Linked DNA regions of Homo sapiens: regions 2, 3 and 4 are each linked to region 1. The links are contacts of gene promoters, found by promoter capture Hi-C in human tissues and cell types (Jung and others, 2019). All regions are on one chromosome and are shown on one strand. Each heading gives the region's core, a stretch centred on a gene start or on the middle of the fragment in contact. The rest is flanking DNA. Distances are from core to core; before and after follow the strand shown.

The links. The method cuts DNA at HindIII sites, captures the fragments that hold promoters and counts their contacts. A contact is called where the count stands out against the background at its distance.
Region 2: a contact is called between a fragment that was not itself captured here and the fragment with the promoter of GNG7 in region 1, in 1 of the 25 tissues and cell types used here (aorta).
Region 3: a contact is called between a fragment that was not itself captured here and the fragment with the promoter of GNG7 in region 1, in 3 of the 25 tissues and cell types used here (dorsolateral prefrontal cortex, liver and pancreas).
Region 4: a contact is called between a fragment that was not itself captured here and the fragment with the promoter of GNG7 in region 1, in 2 of the 25 tissues and cell types used here (dorsolateral prefrontal cortex and lymphoblastoid cells).

Annotation. Positions count from the first base shown.
Region 1 is chr19:2,701,047-2,704,690 of GRCh38, forward strand. It overlaps GNG7 (G protein subunit gamma 7), which reads right to left and starts at 1,648. Exons shown (of 5, transcript NM_052847.3): 1 at 1,600-1,648. RefSeq lists a silencer at 1,544-1,933. The HindIII fragment of the contact is 6,266 bases long and covers 1-3,644 here.
Region 2 is chr19:2,922,775-2,926,418 of GRCh38, forward strand. No RefSeq gene overlaps it. Among named protein-coding and RNA genes, the nearest start is that of ZNF77, 20 kb to the right of the region's middle. The HindIII fragment of the contact is 8,567 bases long and covers 1-3,644 here.
Region 3 is chr19:2,880,191-2,883,834 of GRCh38, forward strand. It overlaps ZNF556 (zinc finger protein 556), which reads left to right. Exons shown (of 4, transcript NM_024967.3): 4 at 1-3,255. Among named protein-coding and RNA genes, the nearest start is that of ZNF556, 15 kb to the left of the region's middle. The HindIII fragment of the contact is 5,975 bases long and covers 1-3,644 here.
Region 4 is chr19:2,854,194-2,857,837 of GRCh38, forward strand. It overlaps ZNF555 (zinc finger protein 555), which reads left to right. Exons shown (of 4, transcript NM_152791.5): 4 at 1-3,644. Among named protein-coding and RNA genes, the nearest start is that of ZNF556, 11 kb to the right of the region's middle. The HindIII fragment of the contact is 5,176 bases long and covers 1-3,644 here.

The DNA.
Region 1 (3,644 bases), core at 398-2,897:
TCCCACTTTAGTTCCTGAAAAATTCAGTCACCGACAGGAGCCTTTCTCCTTCCTGAAGCGTTCTCCTTGGCACCCTATATCCTAGAAATAAACCTCAAAAAGTATTCCGAACTCCCGTCTCCTTCAACTCACTGTTCCCCAGGGGGTTCTGCCCCGTGCCCAGTTCTAGAGCAAACAATTAACATCTCCCCCAAAAGTAGAGGGGTGAGTCCTCTCCAAATTCCTTTTAACTGGATCCTACCTGAGACACCTCCCCACACCCCGTTTTCCTCCTGATTAGTCAATGTCTAGCAAAACACCTGCCCCCAGGTGTCTCCAGCCTGGGACCTTACCCCCACCTCCCTTCTCACTAACTCACCCCAACTTCCTTCTCCCTGAACCCCCTTCCACCCCACACACTCACAAGCTCCCCATTTCCCCTGATAGCCCCCAGACCCTTTCTGGAACAAGCCTGACCCCCACCTGTATGCTCCAGCCACTCCCTGGCTCACCCCAGCTTTGTCCTTCTGCCCCTTTTCAGCTAACCCTAACCCCTGGGCCGTCAATCACACCCCCCCATCTTCACCAACCCCATTCCTCAGTCCTCTCCCCAGACAACCTCAACATCTAATTCCCTCTGCAGCCCCCTCTCCAATGAACCCCACTTCAAACTCCATCCCCAGCCCCCTCTCCAGCTCCCTGCAAACCTCAACCCCACTCCCAGCTCCCTCTTCAAAGAAGCTGCACCCTTGACTCAACCCCTGTTCCCCGCTCCAATTAACCTCAACCCCCAACACCATCCCCAGCGTCCTCCCCAGCTAACTCAGATTTCCAATTCCACTTCCAGCCCCCTCCCCAGCTAACCTCGACCTACAATTCCAGCCCCCTCCCCAGCTAGCTTGGACCTCCAATCCCACTCCAAGCCCCCTCGGCAGCTAACCTCGACCTGCGACTCTAGCCCCCTCCCCAGCAAACTCAAGACCTCCAATTCCACCACCAGCCCCTTCCTAGCTAACCTGGACCTGCAATTCCAGACCCCTCCCCAGCCAACTCAGACCTCCAATCCCGCTCCAAGCTCCCTCCCCAGCTAACCTCGACCTGCAACTCCAGTCCCCTCCCCAGATAACTCAGACCTCCAGTCTCACCCCCAGCCCCCTCCTCAGCTAACTCAGACCTCCAATCCCACCTCCAGCCCCCTCCCCAGCTAACCTGGACCTGCAACTCCAGCCTCCTCCCCAGCTGGCCCTGATTTCTAAGTGGAGTCCCAATGCCCAGACCCAATCCTTCCCCAGCTAACCTCGATCTGCACCCCCTGCCCCGTCCCCAGCTAACCTCGACCTGCAACTCCCGCCCCCTCCCCAGCTAGCCCTGAGCCCCAAGTGCAGTCCCAATCCCCAACCCCAGCCCCTCCCCAGCTAACTTCGACCCCCTAAGCGCAGCCCCGTCCCCAATTCCAACCCCAGCCTCCAGTTGCAGCCCGGGTCCCCAGACCCAGCCCCCCTCCTCAGCCGACTCCGACCCCCAACTCGGTCCGCAGCCGAATCCGAGCTGTCCCAGTCCCCTCTCCGGGACGCCGGCCGCGCCCTCACTTCCCCTGGCCCGGTTCGCGGGCGCCCTTACCTGCGCTCGGGCCCCGCGGCCGCCTCAGCCCCGCCGCGCAGCCGAACCCTCCGCCCCGGCCCGCGAGCGCTCGCTCCCCTCTGCGGGGGCGGGGCCGACACTCGGGGGGCGGGCCCTGGCGTCCCGGCAAGGCCAATCGCGAGCCCCGGCTGCGGGAGGCCGGAGCGGGGGCGGGGCGCGGGGCAGGCAGCGGGGTAGGCTGCGCCCAGGAGAGTGGGGCGGGGCTCCGGGCGCGGGCGGGGCCGGGGGCGGGGCGAAGAGCGGCTTTCCAGGGTGACTTCGTGACGTCAGGAAGGCGCGAGTAGTTTCGCGAGTTCGAATCCCGCGCTAGGTGAGCTGGTTCGAATCCTGCATGCCAGCTCCGGGGGCTCATTTGCTGGGGAAGAATGTCAGTGATCATAACTGCTGCACCGCTTTCTTGAAGACTTTATAGGCTCCCTCTCGTGGGACCCTCCGCATAAGGCCAGAAGGCGAGATTACTATCCACATTTTACAGAGGTGGAAACTGGGTCTCAGAAAGGTGAAACCTAAGGTCATTTGCCCAAGCCTGTCTCATCATTTCCAAGATTTCTCAGTTTCCTAACTCATGGCCCTGGATCCACAAATTCCTGAGCCCCAACACAGATGGAATGAACCAGAATCCTATAGGGAACTGGACCCTGAAATCTGTGTTTTGTTTAGTTTTCGTTTTGTTTTTGAGACAGGGTATCACTCAATTGCCGTGGCTGGACTGCAGTGGTGCAGTCATAGCTCACTGCAGCTTTGAAGTCCCAGGCTCAAGCAGTCCTTCCACCTCAGCCTTCCGGGTAGCTGGGGCCACAGGCACGCACCACCACATCCAGCTAATTTTTGTATTATTAGTAGAGACAGGGTTTCACCGTTTTGGCCAGGCTGGTCTCCAACTCCTGACCTCAGGTGATCCACCTTTCTTGGCCTCCCATAGTGCTGGGATTACAGGCGTGAGCCACCGTGCCTGGCCCTGGCTAATTTTTTTTTGTTAGAGATGGGGTCTTGCTATGTTGCCCAAACTGGTCTTGAACTCCTGGGCTCAAGTGATTCTCCTGCCTCTGCCTCCCAAAATGCTTGGATTACAGGCCTGGAATCTTCATTTTCCACAAGCTCCCTTGGGAATATTGGAAAACACTTTGTATGTCTCCAAAAGCAGTACACAGCCCTGGAAGGAAGATGGAGCCACCATATTCTGTGACCTCAGGGATTTCATCAGGCGCTGACACTGTGTGTCCTTGCCGCCCCACCTGAGCCCTGGGATTGGAGCTGCTGGCCAAAATCCAAGATAAACTTCCCCAGGGTTCCTGTCATCCCTGCAAGAACCTCCCTGCTCATCCTCTGGACTCCAGTGGCCTGCCCTGCAGGGCACAGAGAAACCTCCATCTCCCTGCTTGCCCTCCTCCAGGCTCTCCCCAGCTGGCATCCCCCAAGAGGAATGACTGTCTAGATAGAGCTTGGGAAGGGCACGGTGGCTCACGACTGTATTCCCAGCACTTTGGGAGGCTGAAGCGGGAGGATCGCTTGAGCCCAGGAGTTCAAGACCAGCCTGGCAACATACTGAGACCGCAACTCTACAAAAAAATTAAAATATTAGCCAGGCCTGGCGGCGCACACCAGTAGTCCCAGCTACTTCGGAGGCGAAAGCAGGAGGATCGCTTGAGCTTAGGAGGTTGAGGCTGCAGTGAGCTTTGATCACACCACTGCACTCCAGCCTGGGCGATAGAGTGAGACTCTGTCTCAAAAAAAAAAAAAAAAAGTGTTAAATACACAATGCAATATGATTCGGCCATAACAAAGAATAAAACCCTGTCATTTGCAGCAAAATGGATGGGACTGGAGGTCATTATATTAAGTGAAAAAGTGAAATAAGCCAGACACAGGAAGACAAATAGGGCATGTTGTCACTGATACGTGGGAACCAGAGAGTTGATCTCATGGAGGTAGAGAGTAGAATGATCAATACCAGAGGCTGGAAAGTTGTGTAGGTTGAGTGGGGGGGAAATGAAAAGAGGTGAGTTATGAGTACAAACATTCAG
Region 2 (3,644 bases), core at 570-3,069, 220 kb after region 1:
ATGAAGTTTCACCATGTTGGTCAGGCTCGTCTCAACCTCCTGACCTCAGGTGATCCACCTGCCTCAGCTTCCCAAAGTGCTGGGATTACAGGCGTGAGCCAATGTGCCCGCCCAGTAAGTTCTTTGAACGCAAACTGACTGCTGAGCCTAGACCACCCTGACACGCCGTGAGGGAGCCACCCAGCTGCTATTCCTGCCCTGCAGAACACCCTTAGGGCCACAGTGGTGAAAGTGATGATCTGTGGTCATAGACAAGCAAACCATGTGGAACTGACTGCCTCAGGCAGTCCCTCTGAAATCGGGGACTCAACTAACCTCATTGGACAGGACTGAGAATTCTCCCTACAGGGGGAGTCCGCGCTGAGTGTCTGTTAACCTTCACTGCTGACTAATGGATGTCTTGCTTAGGTTGCCCTGACAATTGTAAACTCAGTTTCCGGCAGTACCTTGTGTGTCCTGTGGGACTGTAATCAGGTGTGGAACCTATTGCAACACCGTCTGAGCTGTGGAAGCTTCAAATTACTGGCAAGAGTTCTGCTCTACCACACACTTGGTAAGTTAGGACAGGTAAAAAGGATTCATACACAAGTTTAAGGAGGAAGCCAGGTGGCTTTCTAAAATAGACCTTTATTTTAACTAAGTCCGAAACCCCTAAAGGGCATAGCTGGAATCATTCCTGCAAGCTCATTACCCCCATGCTGTGACGGTCTTACTGATGATTATTTTGTTGTAAAGCAGGGGCCAATAGGCTGCACTGCAAAAAACTTAGCAAAACAGGCCTGAGTGCTATCCCTTGAAAGGCCCGTTTACAAGGTCAGCTGTGTCAAAATTGCACAAGCAATATGGTTTATGCAAAACACCATTCATTCCAGGCATCTGGAATCTTGGTATTTGCCAAGCAGTGAGTGCATCATAACCAGCTGGCAATAAAAAAAAACCCTGGCAGAGTATCTATTGAGCTTCTCAGGTTGGTAAATAGTCACACATGCTGTTACAATTAGTTTCCCGGGCAGTAAAAGCATCTTGTACGCTGCCAACCAGGGAGGACCCTTGGAAGCTCATTCCTGGTTTCCCCGACTTCACCCCATGTGCCTCATCCCTTTGCTAATAGTTGGCTCTGTTTCCTTGCACTGTAATAAGTCTTAGCTGTAAGGCTGACTATATGCCAGTTCCCTTCAGTACCCCTAACAAATCACTGAACCACTGGGGGTGGCCTTGAGGCCCCCCAGTACACTTGACATCCTGAAACTGGGAAATTTTAAAGGCATTTTCATAAGAGTGGATGGAAGTTTTGTGTTTTAATAATCTGCAAAGCTCAAAAAGCCCATTTTGCTTTTCAAAGATATGATTTTCATAAGTTTGCACTTCCACCAAATGGGCTCACAGGAAAGAGAAGAAAATGTAATAGCTTTCTGTGTGCGTGTGGTGGGGGGCGTTGTTTCTTTGTAGAGATGAGGTCTCACTATGTTGACCAGGCTGGTCTGGAACTCCTGGACTCAAGTAATCCTCCTGCCTCAGCCTCCCAAAGCTCTGGGATTAAAGTTGAGAGCCACCACCCCTGGCCAATAGCTTTGCATTTTGTTAATGAGGAAAGCAAATGAAATTCTGTCAATTTCTCGATGTTAAGTACTGCAGAGATTAATATGACTTACCATCTCATTGCACCTCCTGTTCCCAGCTTCCCTCCCATCATACAAATGAAGAAAGTTAAGCACAAGGAACACAGAATCTTAACCTTAACTCACATATCTTGATGTAAACATAGTAATTTAACCTCTCAGTTTTGAAGGCCTGTTATCTGCCACCTCTTATACTTAGCTCTGTCGATTGTTTTTTTTTTTTTTTTTCCAGACGGAGCTTCGCTCTTGTTGCCCAGGCTGGAGTGCAATGGCGCGATCTCGGCTCACCGCAACGTCTGCCTCCTGGGTTCAAGCGATTCTCCTGCCTCAGCCTCCTGAGTAGCTGGGATTACAGGCATGCCCGGCCAACTTTTTGTATTTTTAGTAGAGACGGGGTTTCTCCGTATTGGTCAGGCTGGTCTCCAACTCCTGACCTCAGGTGATCCGCCCACCTCGGCCTCCCAAAAATGCTGGGATTACAGGTGTGAGCCACTGTGCCCAGCCTGTCAAATGTTTTTAAACTGAAAATTCTACAAGACAATAATAGGCTGGGCGCCATGGCTCACACCTGTAAACCCAGCACTTCGGGAGGCCAAAGTGGGAGGATTGCTTGAGCTCAGGAGTTCGAGGCCAGCCTGGGCAACATAAGGAGACCTTGTCTCTACTAAAAAAATTTTTTTTAATTAGCAAGGCATGGTGCTGCATGCCTGGAGTCCCAGCTACCGGGGAGGCTGAGGCGGGAGGATCACTTAAGCCCAGACGTTTGAGGCAGCAGTGAGCTATGACTGTGCCCCTCCCACTCCAGCCTAGGTGACAGGATGTGACCCTTGTCTCAATCAATCAATAAATGACAAGTATAATTAGCTAATTTTACAAATATGGCATCGAATTTTACAAACAGGGCTCAAAAGGCTACATATTTCACGTAACATGACATTCTGGAAAAGGCAAAGATACAGGTGGCTAAAGCAGATCAGTGGTTAGGGGTGAAAGGTTGAGTACAATTGGGCAATCCAAGAGTATTTGGGGAGTGATAGAATGTTCTCTGTTTTGGTGGTGTAAATATGCATTTATGAAAACTCATAGAAATACGCTTAAAATAGTCTTACTGTATGTATATTAAAAATAATCAACAACAACAAACCGCTTTCGCTTACTAAGAGAAAATGTAAACTCTCCTGAACTTTGAAAACATGCAATGTGGCTGGGCGCGGTGGATCACGCCTGTAATCCCAGCATTTTGGGAGGCCGAGGTGGGCGGATCACGTGAGGTCAGGAGTTCAAGGCCAGCCTGACCAACATGGTGAAACCCCGTCTCCACAAAAATACAAAAAATTAGCCGGGCGTGGTGGCAGGTGCCTATAATCCCAGCTACTCGGGAGGCTGAGGCAGGAGAATCGCTTGAACCTGGGAGGCGGAGGTTGCGGTGAGCCCGAGATAGCGCCACTGCACTCCAGCCTGGGCAACAAGAGCGAAACTCCATCTCAATAAATAAATAAATAAATAATTAAAATGAAAGAAAAGAAAAGAAAACGTGCAACGTTTCTTTTACCACCTTTGGATACTCAGGAAGCACTGAAGGTCTGAGGAAGGAGGGCTCATGCCCCAAATTTGCCTGTACTGATGTTAGGAAATGCCCTTTCGGGCCGCGCCTGCTAAGAACGCTTCTGTGAGATTTCAGTTTATTCACGTCCCCAGGGTCAGATCTTTGGAGATGCTGTGGTTTTGAAAACCTAAAAGCGCACTCCAGTTCTCCCAAAGGGGGACCCTTCCTAGTGGGGGGTCCTAATCCTCAAGCATCAGCCGAGGACTTGGCTTCAGGCCAGTTTCGACTCTCCAGCTCCCATAACAACCCAGTTCCACGACTTCTTCCCAACAAGCCTCATTAAAGACCCGCACCTGCACCCTCTCGGGAGCACAGTTGCGGCTGCCGGGAGAAAGAGCTGGAAAAAGAGTGGTTGGGTCCATGTTCCACGGACACCCGCCGACCACGGCCACAGCCACCCCACAGCCGCGTAGCCACCT
Region 3 (3,644 bases), core at 658-3,157, 180 kb after region 1:
ACATAGAGCTGAATACAATCTCTCAGTATGTGTTCAGTTATTATGTTTGATTATGTATTATTAAAACAAAAGTTTCTGTTTCTGAGAAATATCTATTTACTGTGTTTGTGTTTTTAAAGAAGTTGGATTCTATACAAATGGATAAAATGTTTCTTAGAAATAGCCTATTTAACTGAGTTTTTCAAATAAGTTGTATACTAACAAATGTCAATCTCTGTTTTTTATTTACTGGGAGAATGTATTAAAATATTGAAAATTGCCAAATCAACATGGTGACTTTAAAAATGATACTTCTGGGCCAGGCACAGTGGCTCACGCCTGTAATCCCAGCACTTTGGGGAGGCCAAGGCGGGCAGATCATGAGGTCAAGAGATCGAGACCATCCTGGCTAACACGGTGAAACCCCATCTCTACTAAAAATACAAAATATTAGTGGGGTGTGCTGGTAGGTGCCTGTAGTCCCAGCTACTCGGGAGGCTGAGGAAGGAGAATGGCTTGAACCTGGGAGGCGGAGCTTGCCAAGATTGCGACACTGCACTCCAGCCTGGGTGACAGAGCGAGACTCCGTCTCAAAAAAAAGAATTATACTTCTGAATTAATATTACCAGATGCATTCAGATTTAGACATTTTCTTTCTAGTACATTTGTTTCCTATACTGTTATAATTTTGTCTAAGAAATTCTTTTTTTTTTTTTTGAGACAGATTCTCGCTCTGTTACCCAGGCTGGAGTGCAGTGCCGTGATCTTGGCTCACTGCAACCCCCCCGCCAAGGTTCAAGTGATTCTCCTACCTCAGCCTCCTGAAGAGCTGGGATTACAGGCACCCGCCACCACACCCGGCTAATTTTTGTATTTTTAGTAGAGACGGGGTTTCACTATGCTGGCCAGGCTGGTCTCGATCTCCTGACCTTGTGATCTGCCCACCTCGGCCTCCCAAAGTGCTGGGGTTACAGGCGTGAGCCACCGCGCCCAGCCTAATAAATTCTTGTTTATTCATAATGACAAAAACTTACGTAACGGTTTTATAAATTTAAGTATTAAATAAGTCTAGCAAAAGACATAAAAAGATAACTAATAAAACAAGTTTAAACTTTATTGGAGCCCAGTAGCAATGGCTCACGCCTGTAATCCCAGGACCCACCGAGGCGGGTGGATCACCTGATGTGAGGAGTTCGAGACCACGCTGGCCAACATGGTGAACATGGTGAAACCTTGTCTCTACTAAAAATACAAAAAATTGGCCAGGCGTGGTGGCAGGCGCCTGTAATCCCAGCTACTTGGGAGGCTGAGGCAGGAGAATCGCTTGAACCCGGGAGGCAGAGGTTGCAGTGAGCCAAGATTGCGCCACTGCACTCCAGCCTGGGCGACAAGAGTAAGACTCCATCTCAAAAAAAAAAAAATTTTTTTTTTGGATAATATCAAGGCAGAATAAAGTATAGTATCAAACTTGACAAGGTAGATAATAGGGAATGCAGAATAAAGGATCGGGCTTCAGTAAGTGACAATCTCATCATGAATTCATTTATAGTTCCACCATGTAATATGTCTTAAATACTATTTCTTTTTTTTTAATACTATTTCAAGAACTGCTCATGAGTTAGGAAATAGTGAGCAGTAATACAGAAATAACGGCAGGACCAGGGGCAGTGGCTCACACTTGTAATTCCAAAGCTTCGGGAGGCTGAGGCAGGAGGATCACTTGAGCACAGGAGTTCAAGGCCAGTCTGGGCACATAGTGAGACACAGTCTCTATAAAAAGAAATTTTTAAAAGTATCTAGGCATGGTGATGTGCACTTGTAGAGCCAGCTACTCAGGAGGCTGAGGGTGGAGGATGGCTTGAGACCAAGAGGTCCAGGCTGCAATGAGTTATCTTGCCACTGTACTCCAGCCAGGGTGACAGAATGAGACCGTGTGTCAAATTAAAAAGAAAAAAAGAAACAATAATTATTTCCCTGGCCGGGCGCGGTGGCTCACGCCTGTAATCCCAGCACTTTGGGAGGCTGAGGCGGGTGGATCACGAGGTCAGGAGATCAAGACCATCCTGGCTAACCCGGTGAAACCCTGTCTCTAGTAAAAAATACAAAAAATTAGCTGGGCGTGGTGGCAGGTGCCTGTAGTCCCAGCTACTCGGGAGGCTGAGGCAGGAGAATGGCGTGAACCCAGGAGGCGGAACTTGCAGTGAGCAGAGATCGAACCACTACACTCCAGCCTGGGCGACTGAGTGGGACTCTGTCTCAAAAAAAAAAAGAGACAAAAGGTATATTTATGGTTCAGCCTCATTTCTGCAAATATTAAAAATTTTAGGGCATGATGTATACATTTTATATATATATATATATAGTGTGTGTGTGTGTGTGTGTGTGTGTGTGTGTGTGAATGTGTGTGACGGAGTTTTGCTCTGTTGCCAGGCTGGAGTGCAGTGGTGCGATCTCAGCTCACTGCAACCTCCACCTCCCAGGTTCAAGCGATTCTCCTGCCTCACCCTCCCAAGTGGCTGGGAATACAGGCGTGCCCCGCCACGCCCAGCTAATTTTTTGTATTTTTAGTACAGGTGGGGTTTCACCTTGTTGGCCAGGATGGTCTCGATCTCTTCACCTCGTGATCTGCCCGCCTTGGCCTCCCGCAGAGCTGGGATTACAGGCGTGAGCCACCGCACCAGGCCCATGTCATATGTTTTTATGAGTTTGGACATTGGCATCTGGGACCAGGTACTTCATCTGGATTTGAACCACAATGTGGGTGTTTGTTTTTAATACCTTTGTGAAATAATTTTAAATTGCCTTATATATTTGGCATTGTCACTTTGCTGCCCCTACACACTGATGGAAAAATTGTGTTCTGCAGAAAACTAGAGTTCCTCACAGGGTGAGGAAGAGTTATGGTCATCTGCACAGTTGTAGCCCGTTGCGAGTGTTTTCCCATGTGCACAGTGATATCTAGGCAAGTGTGCCATGATTTCCTGGTGAGGATAAAATCTATGGACGGTGAGAGAACTAGTCAAGGAATAACTGAAGTGAGCTGCAGACAGGATTATCATTTTGAGTAACATCCCAATGTATTTGTCATCCTTTAATTAATTTTTATTTTTTTAATTAAAAAATAATTTTTAAGTGTAAACCTTTAATGATCCACAAAGCCCAAAATGTCCATTTGATTTTCATAGGTATCGTTTCCATATGCTTAGACTTCCAGCAGCTATTAGAAGAGAAAAATATGTAACAGCTTTGTGTTTAATTAAAGGCAAATGAAATCCAGTCTGTGTCCATTTTCAATGTTAATAGTCTTGATAGCGGGCCGGGCGCAGTGGCTCACGCCTGTAATCCCAGCACTTTGGGAGGCTGAGGTGGGCAGATCACCGGAGGTCGGGAGTTCGAGACCAGCCTGACCAACATGGAGAAACGCTGTCTCTACTAAAAATACAAAAATTAGCTGGGCATGGTGGTGCGTGCCTGTAATCCCAGCTACTTGGGAGGTTGAGGCAGGAGAATTGCTTGAACCCGGGAGGCGGAGGTTGCAGCGAGCCGAGATGGCGTCACTGCACTCCAGCCTGGGCAACAAAAGCGAAACTCCACCTCAAAAAAAAAATAGTCTTGATAGCACTGCAAAGACTTCGTGTCATTTCACAATCACAGTTAGCTTATTT
Region 4 (3,644 bases), core at 715-3,214, 150 kb after region 1:
CTGACTTAGTGTGACAGGTATTGGATATTACGTATCTATTATATTTTCCACCTTTTTTACTGGGAGTATTTTTATTGTTTGGCCAGAGGAGCCTTATTCCATTTTTTAAGAAGTAGTTGGCAGAATTTTGTAATTATGCAAAGTTGTTTAAGGAGTATAGCCTCAAATGAATTGTAATTTTTAATGTTTGCCCATTGCTGTTTGTCTTTGCTTGTGATTGTGAATTGGACAGTAGGCTTTGACTTGTGATGTGACGGAGAAATCCAGAGTTGCAGATAGTTCTTCTGCATTGTTGTCAGTGTGGGTAGTGTTAGGAACTTCATTTGCTGGAATGCATTTCCTTTATGGTTCCATGTCCAAATTTACCAATAGCAATAACTTGAATGAAATTTAGAATGAAGAAGAAGTAAGTCATCGCTGAGCTTTTGGGGTCACATTAAATGGAGATGGACAGATGCATAGGGGCTTTGTGAACATCAACCTTCAGCTTATTTTCCAGATTCTTATTCCTGCCAATCAAGAGTACCATCAAAAGAAACACTTAAGTGCTTGATTTCCACTGTGTCAGAGGTGTAGTCTTCCTCAGACATCTCCATTAACTTGATATTAGGGATATTCCTGTGTGGTCAGTCACCTAGAGTCTGGATTTTTCTCAAAACCCTGCATGACCTCTTGACCACTGATTCAGACTGTCTTGTTTGGCAGTCTCTGAGCTTCTGATTCTCCCGTTCTGTAGATCTTAACATATTTGCATGGGGTCTAATTTATATAGTGAACACCTTGTTATCTTAATACTTCCAGTGGCTCTGTGATCCTGATTCCACCACGAAAGCCACAGTGTTGCAGTCAAAGAAGAAAAACAACACATGGGACTTTGTACCCTATTGCATTTTTAAGTGTGCCTGCCGAGTCCTATGTGAGAACAAATACCTTCCTCATATATTAGATTTAGGGAGATTTCTGTTACTCAGAACTAAATGCAGTTTCTTGATATAGGTTAAATTATTAGGTTTGATTATGTATCATTAAAAATAATGTGGATTTTGTTTCAAGGAAAACCTTCTGTAGATATTTCTTAGAAATATCCTGTTTAGCTGGGCACAGTAGCTCATGCCTGTAATCCCTGCACTTTGGGAGGCTTGAGGTCAGGAGTTTGAGACCAGCCTGGTTAACATGGTGAAACCCTGTCTCTACTAAAAACACAAAAATTAGCCAGGCATGGTGGTGAGTACCTGTAACCCCAGCTACTTGGGAGGCTGAGACAGGAGAAGTGCTTGAACCTAGGAGGCGGAGGTTGCAGTGAGCCAAGATCACACCACTGCACTCCAGCCTGGGAGACGGGGAAAGACTCCATCACACAAGCAAGAAAAGAAAAAAAAATCCTATTTACTGTGCTTTCAAATTAGTTGTTTAGAGACTATATTAATTTCCCAGGGCTGCCATAACAAAGTACAAAAACTGGGTGACATAGGAAAACAAACTTTTTGTTTCTCAGTTCTGGACCCAGAAATCCAGAAACAAGGCATTGGCAGGACCATGCTTTTTCTGAAGATGCTAGGGAAGGATCTGTTTCAGAACTCACCTAGCTTCTGGTAGTTCCTTAGCTTGTGGCAGCATAACTCTAATTTTCACATGGCATTCTCCCTGTGTGTGTGTCTCTCCATGTGACAATATTTTTATACATACACACCACTCATTGGGTTAGGCCCCACTCTACTTCAGTATGATTTTACCTTAACTAATTACATTGGCAACAGCTCTCTTTTCGCATACTGAGGCACCGCGAATTAAGATTTCAACGTAAAAATTTTAGGAGACCCAATTCAACCCATAACACTAAGAAATGTTATTTTTTGTTTACCGAGAGAATTACAGATTTCAAATCAACTTTGTAATTTTGATAATTTAAGCATGTTACATTTTGAATCAGTATTACCAAGTATATACAAATACAGGTATTTTTTCATATAAATGTTATTTTTAATTGCTGTATACTTAACATTTGCCATTAAAATGATTTTTTTTTTTTGAGACAGAGTCTCGCTCTGTCACCCAGGCTGGAGTGCAGTGGCACGACCTTAGCTCACTGCAACCTTCATCTCCCAGGTTCAGTTGATTCTCCTGCCTCAGCCTCCCGAGTAGTTGGGATTACAGGCATGCACCACCACACCCAGCTAATTTTTTTATTTTTGGTAGAGATGGGGTTTCACCATGTTGGCCAGGCTGGTCTTGAACTCCTGACCTCAGGTGATCTGCCCACCTTGGCCTCCCAAAGTGTTGGGATTACAGGCATGAGCCACCACACCCGGCCTAAAATGATTTCTTATTTGTGGTTAATAACAATTAAAAAGCGGAAATAATGGTTTTGTCAAGGCCCTCTACCCAGAAACCACCAGGATCACACTGGTAGTCAAAGAAAATTTGCTGTGTTGAGTTGAAGTTTGAACACATGATCAAGAAAGGGCTGTGGCTTGTATCAGAGGGTGTTTAAAAGGATTTACTATCAGATTTGGCCTTGTGTTCTGTGATTTTGGTGAGCGTTCAAGGAAGCCAGGCTTTGGTCTGGATTGGATGTTCTCAGGTCATGAATATAATTCTCTGGGAACTCCCAAAGTTCTCATCTACAAAGCAGAAGTTAATTGGAGCTGAAAACTAATCAGTAAAGCCACAGCAGCCAGTCATATGGGGGAGAAGAGGGGAATGTTTGATGGTTTTTGTGGTTTAGAGGTGAGTTCCGGAAAAAAAGAAGACATGTTTGACATCCTCAAACGAGAAAATTTTTCATGTGTTTTATAGGCCAAGGAGGCAGAAGCTTTTGTTTTAATGAGCCAGAAAGCCCCAAAAGCCTATTTAAGTTTTCTCAGGTATCATTTCAACCTCTGAACTTCCAGAATTAACTAGGGAAGAGGAAAAACATGTAACACCTTAGAGTTTTATTAAAGAGCAAACAATATCCAGTAATCTCCATTACTTTCCATGTTAACATAAGTTTTCATAACGCTCTATAGATGAATGTGATTTGGCAGTCACTTGTATTTCTTAACACCCACTTACCCATCATTCCCTCTTAGATGAAAAAAGTTAAGCACGGGGACAACAGAGTCTTGTATATTCATGTAGCTCATGATGATGGAATCAAGTTTGAAGGCTTAACCTGTGCTTAACCTATATTGGGCATTGTCAAGACTTAAATTTAGAACACTGGAAAGCAAGTATAATTAATTTTACAAATAGGGCATCAAATTTTACAAAGACTCCTAAGGCTATATGGTATTCCTTTTATAAGACATGGAAAAGGCAAAGATAAGGGAAACGAACAAATCGCTGGTTAGAAGTAGGGGATTTGAGTACATATGGGCTTAAGAGTGTTCTGTCATGATTGTAGTGGTGAAAACAAGCATTTGCAAAAACTCATAAGGCTACTCTTAAAATAGCAAATTTTGTTGTATGTATATTTTAAAGTTAAACAATAAAAATGCTTTCAGTTTATTAAAGAACTCAAGACCAGGTGCAGTGGCTCATGCCTATAATCCCAGCACTTTGGGAAGCTGAGGCGGGAGGATTGCTTGTGGCCAGGAGGTTGAGGCTGCAGTGAACTATGATCATGCACTGCACTCTACACTGGGCGACAGAGCAAGACCCTG